Linked DNA regions of Homo sapiens: region 2 is linked to region 1. Evidence: promoter capture Hi-C in human tissues and cell types (Jung and others, 2019). All regions are on one chromosome and are shown on one strand. The core of a region is centred on a gene start or on the middle of the fragment in contact, and the rest is flanking DNA. Distances in the headings are between cores, read along the strand shown.

Region 1 (4,704 bases), core at 28-2,527:
CCCTCCCCACTCCTCTTCCCTGCAACTCATAACCATTTTTCAAGGCCCAGTTCCAACCCCAATCCCACTTCTTGGATGACGCACTCCTCTTCTGTCCCAGTCCAAATTTCCGATGTCAGCATCTGAACTCGGGATAACCTCATTCCCCGAGCTGCCACTCATTCAGGCACCAGTAGCTCTGGACGGGGGCTGGACACGCCCCTGTGTTGTCTCTCACTTAATCCTCCCCATTATCTAATAAGCACCGCCACTGTCCTGCCACTTTGCAGATGAGGATAGCTGAGTCTTAGAAAAGGAAAGGAACTTGCCCAGGGCCATGAGATTAGTAGGTAGCCAATCTGGGATTCAAATTCATTTTTTTCTAGCCCCAAATTCCCTTGTTTTAATTTACATGATCGCAATTGCCTTAACTCCCTGAGAAACATGACTCGTTTCATTCATTCAACCATTCATTCAATGAACACAGTACATTTCGTGCCAATCACCCAGCTAAGCTGTAAAAATCCCCAGCTTTGCCGGGCGCGGTGGCTCACGCCTGTAATCCCAGCACTTTGGGAGGCCGAGGCAGGCGGATCACAAGGTCAGGAGATCGAGACCATCCTGGCTAACACGGAGAAACCCCGTCTCTACTAAAAATACAAAAAATTAGCCGGGCGTAGTGGCGGGCACCTGTAGTCCCAGCTACTCGGGAGGCTGAGGCAGGAGAATGGTGTGAACTCGGGAGGCGGAGCTTGCAGTGAGCCGAGATCGCGCCACTGCACTCTAGCCTGGGCGACAGAGCGAGACTCCGTCTCAAAAAAAAAAAAATTCCCCAGCTTCTACTCCCAAGGAGTTTCCATTCTGGTGGTGCGGGAAGATGTCTTTATTACAGAAAGTGGAGGAAGGATGGTAGCAGAGGGGAGGGCAGAGTTATAATTCCCACTGAATGGATGCGGAAACTGAAGGAAGGCAGGACAACACAGTCGGCCAAGATGGTAAGCAGAGCCCGCCATCACCACCCAGGGATCAGGGCTTCCCAAGCACTGACTATTCTTCCTTGCATTTTCTGGGTGCCTTGCTCGATGCAAATGCATACAAACGTAGGCTTGGATAAGCGCCTTGGCAACGCCCCTACAAATATTCATGATCATTATTAGTATGTTACCAACCTATTGGTTAATTCTTCTCCTAACTCAGGAGACCTCCAAAAAGAAGAGGGATGGCCTGCGCTTCCGACGTGGCAGGAAAGGAGTCACGTGCTCCGGGGTCCTTCCGCGTCGCCCCGCGCGTCCGGAGCCAGGCCGGGGTTGCCAAGCAACCGGTAAACGCCGCCGTTTGAGGAGCACCGGAGCCGCGACCGTGGATTGAACGCTTCCCCAGAGACCCAGAAGCAGAAGGAGCGGACCCAGGGTAAGGGGCGGGCGCCAGGAGGACGTCGGAGGCTAAAGACTAGAGTGGAGAGTGACAGGGAGAGACTTACAGGGTAATAACCACCAAGAGTGCCAAACATTCCTCTTGGGGGGCTTCCTTCTGGGATAGCTCTGCCAGATGGTGGCTGCCAGGACTAGCGCTCCTAGTGCCCTCTTCCCCTTAGTCCTCGCTGCCCTGGATCCGCCCCAAGTCGCAGGACCCTGCAGCCTCTGTACACCCTGCCTCATACCCTCCTACCCACTCAGGTCCTGATACAGTCCTTGTCCTGGAGTGGACTGGAGACCTCTGAAGGATTTACAGCTGAATGGATGGAAAAAAAAGAAGAAAAACAGCCTCCGGCTAGGGTGATGGGAAGATGGGCCCTTTAAGAGGAGAGCTTTCTGCTCAGGATAGAGGGATGTAAATTAACAGTATTGCACACCTGCTAGGTGGCAGGTGTTTTAAGTGCTTTCTTTCATTTCTTCCTCAACCTGGGAGCTGGCGTTCTCGTGTGATCGAGGTCATACAGTTGGTGAGTTCCTCCGGAGCGTGTGCAGTTCCTCCTTCCTGCTCAAGGTCAAGGTTTACCACATTCTCTTGAACCACAGAAGTGCGTCTTCTCCCAGCTTTCAGACCCTATGTGTTTTCCTCTCGAATCCTTGGTTTCAAATCCTTTGCTTGTTTGTCACGGTCAGCAGAGGAGGAACAGGGGAGAGAGCTGTAGAGAGAAGCCTGGTAGGCGCTGGTATCACAGTCACTAACGCAGCAGGTGACAGGAGTCTTGGGCCCCTTCTATGTGCCAGTCCCTGGGGACGGGAGTGAATAAAAGACCACAGTCTTTCCGTCAAGGAGACCACAAGGTAGTTGTGAGGGCAGGTAGTCACTGACCCCCATCGGTCTCCAATTCTGGGGACCTCTTCCCAACTCGTCCTGCCCTCAACCTTCACTTTCCTTGGGGGGCTCAGCCATGCTTAGTGCTATCCTGGGGGAAAATAAATGGGGGCTTTCTAGGGAGGTCTGCCTCTTTTGAGGGTAGAGTGAGTCCCTCAGGACCCCGGAATTCCAGAAGGTGCACAAGGACATAAGAAAGAGAAAGAAAGCTGGGTGCGGTTTTCACACCTGTAATCCCAGTGCTTTGAGAGGCCCAGGAGGATGGATCACTTGAGGTCAGGAGTTTGAGACCAGCCTGCCCAACATGGTGAAACCCCATCTTTACTAAAAATACAAAAATTCTGGCCGGGTGCAGTGGCTCACGCCTGTAGTCCCAGCTACTCGGCAGGTGGAGGCAGAAGAATTGCTTAAACCTGGGAGGTGGAGGTTGCAGTGAGCTGAGATCAGGCCACTGCACTCCAGCCTAGGTGACAGACTGAGACTCCGTCTCAAAAAAAAAAAAAATTAGCCGAGTGTGGTGGCATGCACCAGTAGTCTCAGCTACTCAGGAGACTGAGGCACAAGAATCGCTTGAACTTGGGAGGCAGAGGTTGGAGTGAGCCAATATCACACCACTGCACTCCAGCCTGGGTGACAGAGCAACACTGTCCCAAAAGCAACAACAACAAAGAAAGAGGGAAGGAAGTCCTCTCCTGCCAGGTGCCATGCAGGGCCCACCACTCGCAGGAACCCAGTAGGGGCTGTACCAGGGACCAAGAAGAAGAGGAAAATGTTCTCATCTCCTTATTCCACTAGGGAGTTCAATGTGGAGGGCTGACCTTCCAGCTTGCCTCCTTCCCAGTCTCCCACGCTGACACTCCTCCTCCCCATCACTCCCTTGGCCTTCCTCCCAGCTTGGAAAACACACTTTCCCTTAAGCCACCGGAGGTTCTCTCCAGGAATTACTTTGCTCATTCTCACTGCACAAGACGAGTTTTGTTTTTATAGTGAGTGAAGGTTCCCATCTGACTGCCTCCCCGGGGATGCGGGAGACGCCTGAATCTTTGATGTCTGGACCACAGCGTCCCTGATTCTGCGTGTTCCTGTGTTTGAGACTCACAGTGGTGTTCTTCACGCCTCTGGGACTCTAGGTTCCCACGGGGGGAGGATCTCCCCCCAAAACTCCAGAGGGCAGTGACACTGCTCCCGTCCCCGCTCTGTCACCCCATGCAGACACTCCTGCTCAGGCCTTGCTTGGGGAAGCCCACCCTCTAGCACTAGTCTCACAAGAGGTTGGGGGAGACCTCCTGAGACGCCCTTTGCTGACCTTGCTATTCATCTGTGTGCCCTGCTAGCTTGTGAGAAGAGCTTGCTCTGGGTCCTTGAATGGGTTGTCTTCCCGTCACCAGGCCAGTCTTTAAATGTCCCCTCTGTCTGCCTCCAGACACAAGACAATGCCTCTGTTCTCACTCGGGGCTTGGCCTTGGGAAACACCAAGAAGGAAAGCAAAGCTGTTAAAAATCTGATCTGGGCTAAAGAGGCTATTTCTGTCTTCCTGGAGTTTCCTCATTCTCTTCAATCTCCTTGTGTCCCCTAGGAGCCAGCTGGCTTGCAGCAATTTCTTTTAAAAGTCAGAGACAGGCAGCCCTAATTGCCTGAGTCCTGCAGCCCCATGTGGGAGGCACAGTTGCTTCACACTGTGTTGGCAAAGGGGAGGATGCCACGGGATTTGCATGCTTTTTCACAAGGCCGTAGCTTTGTCCATGTGGTAAAAACACACTGGGGCACCCCGCTACAATCTGGGCTTCTCATCCCACCCTGTGCCCTCTAAGCCATTGCTCCCACCCAGGAAAGAGAATTTCCAAACTACAAGAAAGAGAAGAAAACAAGGCTGGGTGCGGTGGCTCATGCCTGTAATCCCAGCACTTTGGGAGGCCGAGGTGGGCGGATCACTTGAGATCAGGAGTTCAAGAACAGCCTGGCCAACATGCTGAAACCCTGTCTCTACTAAAAATACAAAAATTAGCCGCGAATGGTGGCATGTGCCTGTAATCCCAGCTACGGGAGGCTGAGGCAGGAGAATCGCTTGCACCCGGGAGACGGAGTTTGCAATGAGCCTAGATCTTGCCACTGCACTCCAGCCTGGACGACAGAGCGAGAATCCATCTCAAAAAAAAAAAAAAAAAGAAAAAAGAAAAAAAGAAAGAAAATGCCACTTTCTGCAACAGTCTGGTTAAGGTTGAGTTGCTCTGGGGCTAGGAGTGGGATGGGGTGGTACTGTCTTCAAGACACAATGTATATGGATGCAAAGGGTTAACCTTCCTACCCTCCTTCTCCCCACCTGCTGCCCCAGCTGCTCCAGGGCCCAAGTTCCCCCTGGCACATGCTTCTAGGGGCACACAGCTCCTGCCCTGCCTCTCAGGGGCCAGCGGCCAGGACCCACTG
Region 2 (4,414 bases), core at 417-2,916, 200 kb after region 1:
GAGACTTTCATGATCCCGTTGTCGAGGTTGAGGTGTCCGTGTTCCCGGGTGAGCCCCTCCTTCCCTCAGCGCCTAAATAGGCTCAGGTTGGAATTGTTGGGGCAGGAATCAGATCAGAGACGTGAAGCAGACAGTGTGTGTGTGTGTGTGCGTAAGAGAGAGAGAGGTGGGGGCCAGGGGAACACAGTCAGGGGGTCTCTCCTGGAGCAGCTGACATGTCTGCCCAGTATTGAAGAAGGGAAGGGTCCAGTGACAGGGAGGCTGAGAGAGCGTTGCCTGTGAAGGAGCCAGGAGCGCACCTGTGGCTCAGCCCCAACGGAAGTGCAGCTGAGTGGGGGAGGGGTGGGGCTGAACAGAGAGGCTGGGGGGCCAGATGGGAAGCTGCTGTCCTCAGGGGGAGCCTTACCACATGACAGGTCAGATTTGCAGTGTAGACAGACTCCTCTGCAGCATGGAGTTTCGCAGGAGCACCTGGACCCTCATCAGCAGGATGGAAAATCAGGACCACTGGGAGTGGCACCCGTGTCCTGTTCAGAAATGCCCAGTTGGCCCAGGAGGGTCCTGGAGAGACTCTAGCCCCAGGGTCCTGCATCCTGCCCCCTTCCTTAGTGGGCAGTTTGTGTGAAATCAAACCAAAAAGGCATCCTGAGTGGTGGGAGAGCCAGAGGACAGCTCCCTGGGTCTGACTTGTGGTTTTGCCACCAGCATCAACGTCAATGACACCTGCAAGTATCACTGCGGCCAAGACCTCAACAATCACAACTGCATTTCCACCTGTATCATCCACTACCCTGTTTGCAGTGGGTGCCACCCACAGTGCCAGCATCCAGGAGGAAACTGAGGAGGTGGTGAACTCACAGTAAGCACCCTAGCCCCTGAGACATGGAGGGGGCCCTGTGCTAAGAGGAGGAGCCCAGGGCGGGGACCTTGGCCATGTGGGCCAGCTGGAGGTGTGCATCGCTCCCTTTGCCCCAGGCCCAGGTTGGAAGCCATAGTCTGAACACCCCGGCTTGGACCTGCCCTTGGCTTTGGAAGGGGGCTCAGGTAGGGGGGAAGTTGGGGGGCAGATGGAAGGAAAGTGATAGTTACTGACAGCTGGTAACATCCTACGAGGCCCGTGTTAGATGCTTCACATGAGTATTCTCACTTGCCTTTCACTGCAGCCCTGTACTGTTGTCATTCCGTGTATTAGTCTGTTTTCGCACCGTTGATAAAGACATACCCGAGACTGGATAAATTATAATGAGAAAGAGGTTTTAATGTACTCACAGTTCCACATGGCTGAGGAGGCCTCACAATCAAGGCAGAAGGCAAAAGGCATGTCTTACATGGCAGCAGGCAAGACAGAGAATGAGAACCAAGCAAAAGGGGTTTCCTCTTATAAAGCCATCAGACCTCGTGAGACTTATTCACTACCACAAGAACAGTATGGAGCAAACCACCCCCATGATTCAGTTATCTCCCACTGGGTCCCTCCCACAACACGTGGGAATTATATGGGAGCTACAATTCAAGATGAGATTTGGGTGGGGACCCAGCCAACCCACATCAATCCCCATTTTACAGATGAGTAAACTGAGACTCAGCGAGGTGAAGCAATTTGCCCAGTCAAGTAGCTACAAGAGGCTAAGGCTAAGCTTCCAATTCTGGTTTATGTGACTCCAGAGCCTTGAGTTCTCCTCTCTAAATAGTGGTTCTTAACCTTTTTCGGGTTCACCAACCCCACATAGAATCTGACATCTATGGACACTCTCCCCAGAAAAACACATGCAGTCACAAACCTTTTCTGGGATTCACGGACTCCCTATTCTAGCACAAAACCCCACAATTCCATCCTGGCACTATCCACCCAGAGTTAGTGCAGACCCCACAGGTGAAGAGCTTCCACATCTAAATCAGATCCCACAAGACCGCCCTGATTTAGATGCCAGTCGAACTTTGGGGATCCCCAGGCCACCACACTTCTGACCAACTGGATGCAAATTTGGGGGTTCCCAGGACCCCCCCAGGTTCAATAATTTGTTAGACTCAGAACTCTGGAAAGCATTATACTTACAATTACAGTTTTATCATAAGGATAAAGGATAAAGATTAGGACCAGCCAATGCAGAGACACATAGGACAAGGCTTGGGAGGATTCCCAAACAGTTTCTGTGCCCTCTCCAGGTGGAATCAGGGAGCATCACCTGCACCCTCCCTGCGGCACCTCAATATATTTATCAACCAGGAAGCTCCTCCAAGCTTTGGTGTCCAGAGTTTTTATTGGGGTTTCATTACATAGGCATGATGTGATTGAACTGTCTCCACCTCCAGTCCCTCTTTGGGAGGTTGGGCTGGCTCAGGGCTCCAAATCTCTAATTACGTAGTTGGTCTTTCTGGTGACCAGCCCCATCCTATTGTCTCATCTCTTACCAAAGTCCAGGTGTGATTCATGAACAACAAAGACACTCCTAATTTTTGGGACATTCCAAGGATTTAGAGCCTCCCTCCTAAGAGCTAGGGACAAAGGCCAGCCAGATTCTTTACTGGACAACATCCATAAACCCCTCCACAGGCTTCTGCCAACATATAAGACAAGGCAAAATTCAGGCTTGAACATGCCACTTCCAGAAGTTTAGCCTGTAGATACACATAGGTGGCAGCGCTGAGTTCTGTGGGGCCTGAAGGTTGTGCAGTTTGCGGGGTGGGTTGGTGGGTGGGTAATCTAAGAAAAAGATGAGAAAATTATGAATGCAAACGTAGGCATGAAGGAAAGGGCCCAAGCAATGGAGGGACCTGAAGCTGGGCTGCATCAGCCTCCTGGTCAATCTGCTGCTGCGTGGTCAGGTGTGAAAAGGTGGAGCTGCAAGGCGATTTATAAGCAACGTTTACCATTGCAAAGGACTGGGGAAATGCCCATTCAGTGGGAACATTTAAATAAATCACAGTCTATCCATGTGTTGGAATACCCTGCAGCTATAGGAAAGAGTGAGGGACTTCTTTATGTACTGACGTGGAAAGACCTCTAAGATGTATTGCTAAGTAAAACCAGAATAGTGTTAGACGAGGCCTCCTTTGTGTGAAAGAGAAAGGAGATCCCGTACATTCGTATTTGCTTGTATACACATAAAGAAACTCTGGAAGGTTCTTAAGAACAGCACGTGTGTGTATGTGGGGAAATTGGGGAATGTGTAAATGGGGGGTGTGTAGAAAGGGGGCTTTATACTGTCTATTTTTTTTAATTGACCTTATCTATCTACTTAAAAAGTTAGAGAAGGAGACCAGGTATATTGGCTCATGCCTGTCATCCCAGCATTTTGGGAGGCTGAGGCAGGAGGGTGGCTTGAGCTCAGGAGTCTGAGACCATCCTGGGCAATATAGCAAGATTGAGTCTCTACGAAAAATTTAAAAATTAGCCGTGGTGGCCTGTGCCTGTAGCTGGAGGCTGAGGCAGGAGGATCACTTGAGCCCAGGGGTTCAAGGCTGCAGTGAGCCATGATCACCACTGCACTCCAGCCTGGGTAACAGAGCCAGATCCTGTCTCAAAAAATAAAAATAAAAAATAAAAATAAAAAAGTAAGTTGGAGAAGGCAAGTTGGCCCCGCCCTTACCATCCTGTGCCTCCTCCAGGCTCCCGCTGCTCCTCTCCCTGCTGGCATTGTTGCTGCTTCTGTTGGTGGGGGCCTCCCTGCTAGCCTGGAGGATGTTTCAGAAATGGATCAAAGGTGAGTTGGCTCCCCACACCCCTCTGCCCCACCTGGGGTGGTCAGACCCTGACCACAGACGCTCATCTTCAAAGCTATGTCCACGTCCCACAGTATTGCTATGACATGTGACACCCAGACCACACATCCTAGGTGATCCTACAGGGCAGGTCCCATGGGAGGCATCCTTGTGCGTGGTGGTTACAGGCTGTGAGAGGTGGCTCCCAAGCAGGAGGCTTTCCCACTTCCAGGCCAAGGGTGGTTGCCCCATGAAGCAATGACCCTCTTCTGTTTAAAACCCTGGCATGGTGTGCTGGGTGCAGTGGTGTGCATCTGTAGTTCCAGCTACTCAGGAGGCTGAGATGGGAGGATTGCTTGATCCCAGGAATTCAAGACCAGCCTGCGCAACACAACAAGGCTCCCGTGTCTATAAGATAAAATAAACCCTTGCATGGTCTCCCCCACCATAAAAAGTCCAGGTATCTACAGGAGTCACTGCCCTCCACGATCTGGCTCTACCCACCTCCCTCTCCCCATCCGCGCACCCTGGAAACCAACTTCTTGTATCTCCTTTAATGACAGCCTCAACCTCAGCCTCTCCTCTCCTTCTGGGTTTGCTCTGGGCTGGAGGGCCTCCCCTGCCCCCTCTCCCCAGCTCACTCCCAGTGGACTCCAACAGTGGTCCTCAGACTTTCTTTTCTCTGGGACCTTTTCTTTGACTCCAAAGAGTG

Evidence for each region. The method cuts DNA at HindIII sites, captures the fragments that hold promoters and counts their contacts. A contact is called where the count stands out against the background at its distance.
Region 2: a contact is called between a fragment that was not itself captured here and the fragment with the promoter of DNAI2 in region 1, in 2 of the 25 tissues and cell types used here (liver and pancreas).

The regions. Positions count from the first base shown.
Region 1 is chr17:74,272,957-74,277,660 of GRCh38, forward strand. It overlaps DNAI2 (dynein axonemal intermediate chain 2), which reads left to right and starts at 1,278. Exons shown (of 14, transcript NM_023036.6): 1 at 1,278-1,389. The HindIII fragment of the contact is 25,570 bases long and covers 1-4,704 here.
Region 2 is chr17:74,473,827-74,478,240 of GRCh38, forward strand. CD300A (CD300a molecule) reads left to right here. Exons shown (of 7, transcript NM_007261.4): 2 at 1-48; 3 at 706-859; 4 at 3,610-3,704. Among named protein-coding and RNA genes, the nearest start is that of CD300A, 9.4 kb to the left of the region's middle. The HindIII fragment of the contact is 3,703 bases long and covers 1-3,518 here.